Regions from separate parts of the Homo sapiens genome. Here region 1 is linked to region 2. Evidence: promoter capture Hi-C in 16 types of primary human blood cells and fetal thymus (Javierre and others, 2016). All regions are on one chromosome and are shown on one strand. The core of a region is centred on a gene start or on the middle of the fragment in contact, and the rest is flanking DNA. Distances in the headings are between cores, read along the strand shown.

Region 1 (5,871 bases), core at 3,297-5,796, 110 kb before region 2:
CCACCATGCCCTGCTAATTGTTGTATTTTTTGTGGAGATAGGGTTTCACCATGTTGGCCATGCTGGTCTCAAACTCCTGACCTCAAGTAATCCACCTGCCTCAGCCTCCCAAAGTGCTGGGATTACAGGCGTGAGCCACCGCACCTGGCCAGTTTTTTTTATTTTTAAACCAAAAAACATTTTTTCATTAAAAAAAAGTATGTATTCACTTGAACCCAGGAGGCAGAGGTTGCAGTGAGCCAAGATCTGGCCACTGCACTCCAGCCTGGGTGACAGAGTGAGACTCCGTCTCAAAAATAAAAATAAAATTATAAAATAAGATAATAACATAAAAATAAAAATAGAAAAGTATTTAAGGCCAGGCGTAGTAGCTCATGCCTGTAATTCCAGCACTTTGGGAGGTCAAGGTGGGTGAGGATCACTTGAGGTCAGGAGTTCAAGACCAGCCTGGCCAACATGGTGAAACACCATCTCTACTAAAAATACAGAAGTGAGCCAGGTGTGGTGGCTGGCACCTGTAATTCCAGCTACTCCGGAGGCTAAGCCAGGAGACTAGCTTGAACCTGGGAGGTGGGTGTTGCAGTGAGCCAAGATCGGGCCATTGCACTCCAGCCTGGGTGACAGAGCAAGACTCTGTCTCCAAAAAAACAAAAACAAACAAACAAACAAAAAAAGTATTTAGAACACATAAAACAAGGCCACATTTATTCTTTTTTCTCGTCTCTTGGTATGGGATCTGTTGGTGGCTCTTCCACTGTTGGCTGTTACTCTCCAAGCCAGTGTTACTATCACTGGTTCCTTCTCTGCCATACAGTCGACCCCTCCTACCCACTCTCCTTGTCCTCAGGAGTAGACATGCCTTCTTCACTGTTCCGTTGGCTCTTCTTCAGAGTGTGTCTCCTCTGTCTCCCTTGGAAGGTTCGTGTCGTCTTTCTTTTCCTCGCCTTTGTTGCCCGCTTGCTCTTCCTCAGGAACGAGGCTGCTCTGACTGGCTCAGCTTGCACTGCCGCCTCCTCCCTTTCCTCCTGCCTTTTGCGGCCCTGTTTCTCTGCCTGTGCAATCTCAGCTACAGTTTTCTCCATATCCAGTTCTACCTTCAGACCGCACAACCTTTTAAGTTCACTGTTAAATGAAGCCGTGCTTTCCAGGAATTTCCTCTTCTTCTTCTGATGCCGTTCCTCTATTTGAAGAAGTTCAGCTTCTAGTTTTCGCTGATGAACCATTAAGGACTGGACCTGTCGCTTGAGGACCTGCATGCTAGCTGTTGTGACAGCGGACGGAATGTCTGGCACCACACTGTCACTAAGGATTTCACTGATGCGGCCATGATTTCTCTGGAAACGGGCGGTGTCCGTATGCTCCATTGAAAAGCCATTGTCAGCCCAGCACGGTGGCTCACGCCCATAATTCCAGCGCTCTGGGAGGCCGAGGCAGGTGGATCACAAGGTCAGGATCAGCCTGGCCAACATCGTGAAACCCCATCTCTACTAAAGATTAAAAAAAAATTAGCCAGGCGTGGTGGTGCGTGCCTGTAATCTCAGCTACTGGGGAGGCTGAGGCAGTAGAATCGCTTGAACCCAGGAGGCGGAGGTTGCAGTGAGCTGAGATCACGCCACTGCACTCCAGCCTGAGCGACAGAGCGAGACTCTGTCTCAAAAAAAAAAAAAAAAAAGAAATGAAAAGCCATCGTCACAATCATCTGGATCTTCAGCAAGCTGAATGCTCACGTCAGGTTCTCCTCTCTTCATGCGAGACTGCCTCTGTCCACTTTCTTCCTCTAAAGCAGCTTCTGCATGACTTTTTGCAGCATTTATGTAAGCAAGGTTCGTGTGGAATTAGAGGTCTTCATAGATTCATTGTACTCTATCTTTTCTACTTTGTATTTGTTTATTCTTGTTTCTCTTCATCAGTGAGATCTCCCCACATGCCATCAATAAGCTTGCCAATCTCCCACAACTTTAGGTCAGGGTTGGAAGCCTTTACTTGGTCCCAGACCTTTCTGCTGTACCTCATGTAGCACATCAGCGGCTTATCTGGTGGCTTTGGGGGTTTTGGAATCATAATACCAAAGGACGCTGGGACCCGGCTATTGGTGCCTGGGTTGCCTCCCAGCCTGTAGTTGTTGTAGGTGAGATGACTGTAAGGATTGTATCCCACAAACCCTGGTGTACTGGACATTTGTGTTGCAGGAGCTGGGGTGGGAGTTGGGGCATAAGATGGTCTTTTTGACATTTTGGAAGATTAAGTTCTCAGTTCCTTAAGAATGAATCTGAGACTTCATGGGCAGAAAAAGTGCCCCAAGCCCTGGCTTCACTTCCCTTTATCCCATGCATGCCCACCCCTCCAATTTTTTAATTTTTTGTAGAAATGGGACTTCACTGTTGCCTCAGCTGGTCTCGAATTCCTGGGCTCAAGTGATCCTCCCACTTCAGCCTCCCAACGTGCTGAATTACAGGCACCAGCCACTGAGCCCAGCCCACTTCCTATATTATGTCCTAAAGTGGGTTTTTTGTTTGTTTGTTTGTTTGTTTACTACAAATAGCCCCTTCACTTTCAGGACTCAGACAAGCACCTTTGGGACACTAGGAATCCCTCCATGACCCTAAGAAAATGCTGCAAAAATGTTAGTTTTATTCTCCTCTCTTCACTGTAGATTTCCCAGTAGGAAGTAGGGGCACAAGAGATCAGGTTTATTCATTCAACAAATAGCATCGTTCATGCAGTGGGTGCTGTTCTAGGTGCTGAAGACAGAGCCATGAATAAGACAGAAAGAGCCCCTGCCCACTTGGAGCTTCTATCCTAGCAGAGACAGGCAATAAACAAATGAACAGTAAATGTTAATATGTCAGGTGGTGGAAAGAGCTGTGGAGGAAAAAAGAAAGCCAAGTGAAAAGGATAGCGAATTCAGGACTGGGAGAGGTGTTGTTCCTGTCCTATGCAATGTGGCCAGGGAAGGTCTCAATGACAAGGGGACATTTGAGCAGAGACCACAAAGAGGTGTCTGTAATCCCAGCACTTTGGGAAGCCGAGGCAGGCGGATCACCTGAGCTCAGGAGTTTGAGACCAGCCTGGCCAACATGGTGAAACCCCATCTCTACCAAAAAATACAAAAATTAGCCGGACATGGTGGTATGTGCCTGTAATCCCAGCTACTCAGGAGGCTGAGGCAGGAGAATCCCTTGAACCTGGGAGGTGGAGGTTGAAATGAGCTGAGATCACGCCACTGCATTCCAGCCGAGGCGTCAGAGTGAGACTCCGTCTCAAAAAAAAAAAAAGCCTGTGGGCAAGGCAGATCTATTAGGGTCTGTATACATAAAGATGTGTACATATATGTATGGTTTTTTATATGTCAACAATAAAAACAAAACAAAAATGATTTGTAAGTGACCTGTTTCTCCTTCAGATTATCTTTGCTTTCTTGAGGACTTGATTATGCATTCAAAATTATACTGATGTTGTATTTCTAAGGTATCTGTAGTGGAGGAGGGGCGCTCAGGTGCTCAGGTTAGCTGGTCTACTTTAGCACCCGGCTTAAAGCACAAATGGGAAGCTTGATCTGCTCTCCTTCATGCATTCATTCATTCACTCATCTAACTATGCATATATATATATATATATACACACACACACACACACACACACACATATATATTTTGAGATAGGGTCTGCACTCTGTTGCTCAGGCTGGAGTGCACTTGTGTGATCATGGCTCACTGCAGTCTCGACCTCCAGACTTAAGTGATCCTCCCACCTTAGCACCTCAAGTTAGGACCACAGGCACATAGCACCACACCCAGCTAATTTTTTATTTTTTGTAAAGATGGACTCTCCCTATGTTGCCTAGGCTGGTCTCAAACTCAGGGGCTCAAGAGATCCTTCTGCTTTGGCCTCCAAAAGGGCTGGAATTACAGGTGTGAGCCACTATGCCTGGCCTCATTTAACAATATTTCTTGGGCACCTACTATGTGCCAGGAATAGTCAGGCACTGGGGATCCTGTGTGAGGCAGGACAGATTTTATCCTAGCTCTCAGAGAGCTGCTCCCAGCAGAGAGAAAGGTTTTGTTTTTTATCCTCATGATTTTGCACTGTCCCTCAGCTATATCACCCACCTATCAATATTATTTCTTCCACTGGTTTTCCTGGAGACTGTCTTCCTGCTCCCCTCTGGGTAGGTTGCTTCCAAGTCCAACTACATAGCCCCTCCAGGACTGGCCCACACTTGAGTCCCTGTTTTCTGAGTCTCCGGCTTTTCTTTTCCTTGGTGTACTCTTTCCTTTTCCTAGAGTAGATTCCTGAGAAGGACAGCAAGGGAAAAAAACATTTACCTGTTTGCATATCTGAATATGTCATTTATTTTGCCTTTACATTTGACAAGTAAGTTCCTTTTCTATTTTTGTATTTTCTCTCTGATAATTACTTTATGTCTTAGTCTGTTTTGTGCTGCTATAACAGAATACTATAGACTGGCTAATTTATAAAGAACAGAAATTTATTTCCCCCACTTTTTTTTTTTTTTTTTTTTTTAATGAGACAGAGTCTTGCTCTGTTGCCCAGGCTGGAGTGCAGTGGCTTGATCTCAGCTCACTGCAACCTCCGCCTCCTGGATTCAAGTGATTCTTCTGCCTCAGCCTCCAGAGTAGCCTCCCGAGTAGCTGGGACTATAAATATGTGCTACGACATCCAGCTAATTTTTGTATTTTTAGTAGAGACGGGGTTTCACTATGTTGGCCAGGCTGGTCTCAAACTCCTGTCCTCAAGTGATCTGCCTGCCTGGGCCTCCCAAAGTGCTGGGATTACAGGCAGGAGCCACTGTGCCTGGCCTATTCTTCTCTTGAATCATTTTATTTCAGTGGATAGTTTTTATTTTAGAGATCATTTTTTCATTATTTGTTCTTTTTTATAGCATCCTATTCTTAATTTATGGATCCCATGTCATTCAAAAATATTGCTTAAAGTGAGTTTGGGGTTTTTCTTTGGTTTTCCTTACCTTTTTTCCCCTGAAGTCTCCTTTTTATGTTTGTTAGTTGTTTTACTGTCTCTTTTATGTCAACATGAAGAACTGAATATCTGACTCAATCTGGGTGTCAGGTATGTGGATTGTTATTTTTATTTATTTTATTTATTTTTATTATTATTATTTTTTGAGACGTTGTTGCTCTGTTGCCAGGCTGGAGTGCAGTGGCACAATCTCAGCTCACTGCAACCTCCACCTCCTGGGTTCAAGCAATTCTCCTACCTCAGTTTCCTGAGTGGCTGGGATTATAGGTGTGTGCAACCATGCCCGGCTATTTTTTTCTGTAGATTGTTATTAATTTTCCTATACTTTTCTTTATGTTGACTGATTTCGTATATACGGTTTTGGTAGATTGGAAACTTTGTATGTGTTTATATGTCCTCAGAACTGGAGGAATCTGCTATAAGGGGCCTTTTTGTTGGTGAACTTCCATGTGACAGAAGGACTTCCTAATCTTCTGCCTGAGTACATGTATTTGGCTGCTAAAATTCTGGGAAAGGGAAGGAAGAATGAAGGAAAGAAGCTTAGGAGCCCATTATTCAAGACAGGCGTCCACTTCATTCCTTGTTTTTGATACTATGACTCACCTCCACCTCTCTCTGGGCCTGGTGGCCTCACATCTGAAGCCTCTATAGTTTCATTTCTGCAAATAATAAGGCTTGAAGAGGGGTGACAGCAACTCCTGGCTGTGAGGGGTGGGAAGGGACACTTGGGATCCGTTATTTCCTTGCTCCATTTTTAGCCCATTGCCATATGCCTCAGTTGTCCATGGTAACTGGTACCTATAAATCCTGGAACTCTTGGGATCCCATCAGAGAAAATATACCCACTTCTTATCGACATCCCCCTTTGAAAAC
Region 2 (5,894 bases), core at 3,139-5,638:
GTAATCCCAGCAGTTTGGGAGGCTGAGGCAGGTGGATCACCTGAGGTCAGGAGTTCAAGAGCAGCCTGACCAACATGATGAAACACCACCTCTACTAAAAATACTAAATTGGCCAGGCGTGGTGGTGCGCACCTGTAATCCCAGCTACTCAGGAGGCTGAGGCAGGAGAATCGCTTGAACCTGGGAGGCAGAGGTTGCAGTGAACAGAGATTGTGCCACTACACTCCAGCCTGAGCAACAAAAGCGAAAATCCATCTCAAAAAAAAAAAAAACAAACAAACAAAGGAGGGCAGTGTGGTGGCTTCCGCCTGTAATCCCAGCACTTTGAGACGCTGAGGCGGGCAGATCACCTGAGGTCAGAAGTTCGAGACCAGCCTGGCCAACATGGTGAAACCCCGTCTCTATTAAAAATACAAAATTAGCCAGGTGTGGTGGCATATGCCTGTAATCCCAGCTACTTGGGAGGCTGAGGCAGAAGAATCACCTAAGCCTGGGAGGCGGAGGTTGCAGTGAGCCGAGATCACACCATTGCACTCCAGCCTGGGCAAAAAGAACGAAACTCCGTCTCAAAAAAAAAAAGAAATTGTTTAGTGGAGCACCAACAAATACTTGGGTACCACGGTGTGCAGGATGTTCAATCCATAAAATAACATGTTCTGCCACACCTCCACAGCAGAAGAGTCACATATTCTATATATAGCTAATATGCACTGTGCTCCTACAAAGTGCCTGGTCCTGGCACCATGTGAAGTGCTTTACTCTCACTAACCCCTAAAATCCTCACAACTACCCTATGTGGTAGATATTATGATTGACACTTTTTTTTTTTTTTGAGACAGAGTTTCACTCTTGTTGCCCAGGCTGGAGTGCAATGGCACGATCTCGGCTCACCACAACCTCTGTCTCCCGGGTTCAAGCGATTCTCCTGCCTCAGCCTCCTGAGTAACTGGGATTACAAGCATGCGCCACCACGCCCAGATAATTTTTGTATTTTTAGTAGAGACAGGGTTTCTCCATGTTGATCAGGCTGGTCTCGAACTTCCGACCTCAGGTGATCCGCCTGCCTCGGCCTCCCAAAGAGCTGGGATTACAGGAGTGAGCCACCGTGCCCAGCCTTAACACTCTTAAAGAGCCTGAAGCCGACAGAGGTTAAGTAATCTGCCAAAGTTGCACAGCTAGTAACCTGTGGAAACAAGATTCCAACCCAGCAGACTTGATCCAAAATCATCACACATCTTCCCAAGTAAAAGGGCTACAAAAAGATTATACCATTATCTTACAGGATTGAGTTTTAGTTGGGGGCATGCACCCTTTACAAAAAGATTGGAGTAGACAGAGTTAATGTTTTGCTTCCTACTCCACACTGTTCCTAAGGATAGGTTAAAGTTGACCACACAGCCAGGCGTGGTGGCTCACGCCTGTAATCCCAGCACTTTGGGAGGCTGGGGCGGTGGATTGCTTGAGGTCAAGACCAGCCTGACCAACATGGTGAAACCATCTCTACTAAAAATACAGAAATTAGCCAGGTGTGGTGGTGGGCACCTGTAGTCTCTGCTACTCAGGAAGCTGAGGCAGAATTGCTTGAACCCCTGAGGCGGAGGTTGCAGTGGGCCGAGATCACGCCACTGCACTCCAGCCTGGGCCACAGAGTGAGGCTCAGTCTCAAAATAAATAAATAAAGTTGACCACATGAATTAAATCCTCAACCTTACTATACATTTGTTCTATGCTCCCTTTTCCAGAAAGGCCCTATCCTACCCCTCTGACTCTATTCCTATTAGTCCTTCAGACTTCATTTATTTATTATTATTTTGAGACGGAGTCTGGCTTTGTTGCCCAGGCTGGAGTGCAGTGGCACAATCTCAGCTCACTGCAACCTCCGCCTCCCAGGTTCAAGTGATTCTCCTGCCTCAGCCTCCTGAGTAGCTGGGACTACAGGTGCCTGCCACTACGCCCAGCTAATTTTTGTATTTTTAGTAAAAACGGGGTTTCACCATATTGGCCAAACTGGTCTTGACCTCCCGACCTTGTGATCCGCCCGCCAAGGCCTCCCAAAGTGCTGGGATTACAGGCATGAGCCACCGCGCCCGGCCCAGACTTCATTTTAGGTATCATCTCCACGTAAGCCTACTCAAACTCCTCACGATTTAGACTAGCCACTCTTCCTCCCTGTGCTTACTATTGTAGCATCTTCCACACTATTATGATTATCTCACCGGAATGCTCCTCAAGGGGTCTGTTGTGTTCATCATTTATTCCCAGTGCCTAAAAACAGTGCCCAGCATTAGGTGCTCAATAAATATTTGCTGACCCATCTGATCACCTAACCCTAGCCAGCTACAGCTAAAAGTGGAGTGTTAAAAGCAAACAGTGCTAGGGAAGTGCTAGCGCTAAGTGCTAGTATTCTCTAACCCACAAGTTAGAGAACAAGCTCTAAGTTTCATGAAATTTATGACAGACCAAGAAAACAGTATGATACTCTGGAAATAAGGATTATGATAATTTGCCTCCCAAAAAAGGTAAGCAAAATAAAAATCTATTTAAAAAATCACTTGTCCAATTTAATTTCAGTATAATTTCTTTTGTGAGAATGAAGCAGGTATTTGTCACAAAAGAAAACCCAAACCAAATATTTCAGTTACGCTATACAAACTGTTTCAAATCAGCTTAATTTTGACAATTCCCAGAGTTCAAAGACGACTGCCGTTGCTTTTTAAAAGCCTCTCAATATAAAAGTACATTTAAAAATGGGTTCAACTGCACCGCCACAATGCTGAGAGCCATGTGTCTTTTAAGAAATTTATTGCGGAGCGGATGGGTTTCACAATTAATATAGCACAATTAGCGTCAATGCCACTTAAATTTTCTAACCAGATTCAAAAGGGACTTTCCTAGAGCCTTCCCTTTTCCTTTCCTAAACGGGAAATTCGATTAAAAAGGTCACTCTTTAGCTCTTACTTCCACACTAAGTAATTCTGAAACATGGTGAAAGTGCATTATAAGTCCATAGGGCTATGACTGGCAAAATACTTTCCTGTAAATACTAGAGTCAAATAAAATAGAAGAGAGAGCTTGACTTCACTCCGTTGGGTTTGAGGACAGAAACTGATCATCTCCCTCAGATTACTGCTTCTGTTGATGTCTCGAAAAGCACTGAGGCAAATATGCCAGAGTCCCACCCCAAGCGCGAAGAGCCTCCGATTGTTTGACACATCAATGGATTAGTGAATGAGGGCAACTCACTCTTCCCTTCTAATTTACCTTAATTATTCTTCTCAGAAACCCTCAAGTTTACTCTAAGTTATCACCATATGGAATCTTTTCTTTGCCCCAAAGTATAAATTCAGGCCTTTCCCAAATAGCTAGTACTGCTTCAATCGCAACCACTGAAATAAATACCTTAAAAATATCACACATCTACTAATTCCACGCAAATGTGGAAAAAGCCAGTCCAGTCGCCTGAAGAAATAAGGTTCTGGAACATGGTTAAATGATGCATATTTTGTAACAGAAGGCACTGAGCATAGTGGGAGACTCGAAAGCAAAAGACCGGATGGAAATCATGGGAAGACCCCGCCCCAGTAAGCTCGATGCCGATTCAAACAGTAACTTGGATGTGTCGTTTGGAATCGGAATCACTGAAACAAAGGCGTATATTACGGGAAGCAAGATGTCTGGAGTAAAATAAACGGTATGCAGCTACCGAGACCGTACACCGTCCTCCCACAGGTCTTACCTATGGTGGAAATAAAGGTAGTATTGAAGGCATCATCCGAAAAACGAAAAAGGACGCAGGTCTTCCCCACTCCGGAATCCCCGATCAGGAGCAGCTTGAAAAGCAGGTCGTACGTCTTCTTCGCCATTGGGAGGAGCGGCTCGGGCTCTCGCCGCCGGCGGCCCCAAGGGATCGGTCCCTCTCACTACGGCCAACTCCTCACTCGGGCGTTCTCAGGCCGGAGGACCGGGGAAGCGTGGGAAAAAGGCTCGAGACGGCGCGGGCGACCTACGAACAGCTTTGAGGAAGCCCCGACAGTGGCGGCGTCCAGTGCCTCCGAGGGCGGCGACCGCGGCTCCGCAGCCTCTCCCAGCCCGTCCGCCCGGTTCCGGGGAGTCGGTCGGGACAAAATGGCCTCCCCTCCCCCCTCAGGGCTTCTCGGCCGGGACGCTCCCACGGGCGAGCAAGCCTGCTCTGCCGTCGAGGAGGCGCAGCGGGCGTGAGGACAGTCTCTCTCCCGAGCGGAAACTCCCTGCTAGCACGCGGCGAGGGCAGCGAAGAAGGACCCCTAAGTCGACGAGCTCAGTTACATAGCCCCAGGAAACCGAGCCACCCCGGCCAGAGCCACCTTTTCCCCGTGCCCTCTCACGCCGGCGTGCGCGCTGCCTGAGACGCACGCAAGGGCGTACGCCCGCCCTTCCCTCACGCCCTAGCCTTGCGGTCCGCCTCTGCGCACGCGCACAAGAGGGCATGGGGGCGCGCCGAAGTGGCGAGTGGAATGCTCCTGTCTCCAAGCCTCAGTCTGAGGCTGGACCCAGAGGGGAGAAGGGAGGGGCGAGAAAGGGCGAGGCCGCGGGCGCGCTCCCTGTGGCCGCCTGATAGGGTGCGCGGCGTTACGAGCACGCCCCGGGGGAGACGCTACCTAGCGACTGCGCAGGCGCAGCGCCCCCCCTCCGACCCCCGCCTCCCGCCTCCCGCTCCCCGCTCCCCGGGACACCCTTACAGAGCCCAGCACCTCCTTCCCCTCCCGGGGTCTCCCGCTGGACTGCGCTGCGGTTTCTCTGCACAGCGCTTGTCGGGTGTGTTGAGCTGGAGGTCTTGGCGCAGCGACGGGCTTGGGTGGCCATGTGTTCCCGTGTAGGTGGAGCTCGTAAACGCGAGAAAAAGCCGCGCCCTGGGTCATTTAATAGCCTCTTTGCTAGAACGAGACGCCTCCCGGCGTGCCCCCTCTCCAGGGCCAGCCCTGACGGGGAAACATGAGCGCTCCATCCGGATTGACTTCAAGAGCAAGAGTTTGAGATGGAAAAGCTGGCCACGCCGCTCGGGTTGGGATGAGGTAATCCTCACAACCTCTTCCTGGGCGAGGAGAGGAAGGTTGAGGAACACCTGGGCGCAGGAAGAACCTCCCTGCGAAGTGGAGGGTTCTGTGCGGTGCTCAGAGAACCTGCTTCAGGCCTTTGCCGTCCTTCAGGAATCCGGGAGAACCCGAGAGCGCTCTGCAGAGGAGGTGGGGCCTCTGCCTGCCGCCAGCGTCGTACCACTGGGTTGAAAATTGAAAGGTGGTCAAGCCTACTCCCAGTCCGACACAGCCTGCTTCCTCGCATTTTCTTTTTCTTTTTTTCTTTTCTTTCTTTTTTTTTTTTTTTTTTTTGAGATGGAGTTTCGCTCGTTTCCTCGCATTTTCTTTTTCTTTTTTTCTTTTCTTTCTTTTTTTTTTTTTTTTTGAGATGGAGTTTCGCTCTTGTTGCCCAGGCTAGAGTGCAATGGCACAATCTCTGCTCACTGCAACCTCCACCACCTGGGTTCAAGTGATTCTCCTGCCTCGGCCTCCCAAGTAGCTGGGATTACAGGCATGTGCTACCACGCCCGGCTAATTTTTTGTATTTAGTAGAGACGGGGTTTCACCCTGTTAGTCAGGCTGGTGTCGAACACCTGACAGGTGACCCGCCCGCCCCGGCCTCCCAAAGTGCTGGGATTACAGGCGTTAGCCCCCGCGCCCGGGCCCTCGCATTTTCTTTGCATTTGCTTTACCTTCTGTTCTCTCTCCCCATCAGTCCTGTTTACGCCACCCTTTTTCTCTCCTACCCTTCTGTAGTTGCAGTATGCATGCTGCTGACCTTCCATTCTCAGGGACATCCATCCCTCAAAGCACACCTAGGTGTGATGGCACAGGAGTTGA

The links. The method cuts DNA at HindIII sites, captures the fragments that hold promoters and counts their contacts. A CHiCAGO score of 5 or more calls a contact.
Region 1: a fragment that was not itself captured here is called in contact with the fragment with the promoter of RAB10 in region 2 in 2 of 17 cell types (megakaryocytes and M2 macrophages); the score reaches 6.0 in megakaryocytes.

The regions. Positions count from the first base shown.
Region 1 is chr2:26,145,565-26,151,435 of GRCh38, reverse strand. It overlaps the pseudogene SMARCE1P6. Among named protein-coding and RNA genes, the nearest start is that of GAREM2, 25 kb to the left of the region's middle. The HindIII fragment of the contact is 1,987 bases long and covers 3,553-5,539 here.
Region 2 is chr2:26,032,578-26,038,471 of GRCh38, reverse strand. It overlaps RAB10 (RAB10, member RAS oncogene family), which reads right to left and starts at 4,388. Exons shown (of 6, transcript NM_016131.5): 1 at 3,737-4,388. The coding sequence starts at 3,863. LOC124907743 (a long non-coding RNA gene) reads left to right here and starts at 4,723. Exons shown (of 2, transcript XR_007086249.1): 1 at 4,723-4,794; 2 at 5,811-5,894. RefSeq lists an enhancer at 4,133-4,182 and a silencer at 4,493-4,722. The HindIII fragment of the contact is 14,591 bases long and covers 1-5,894 here.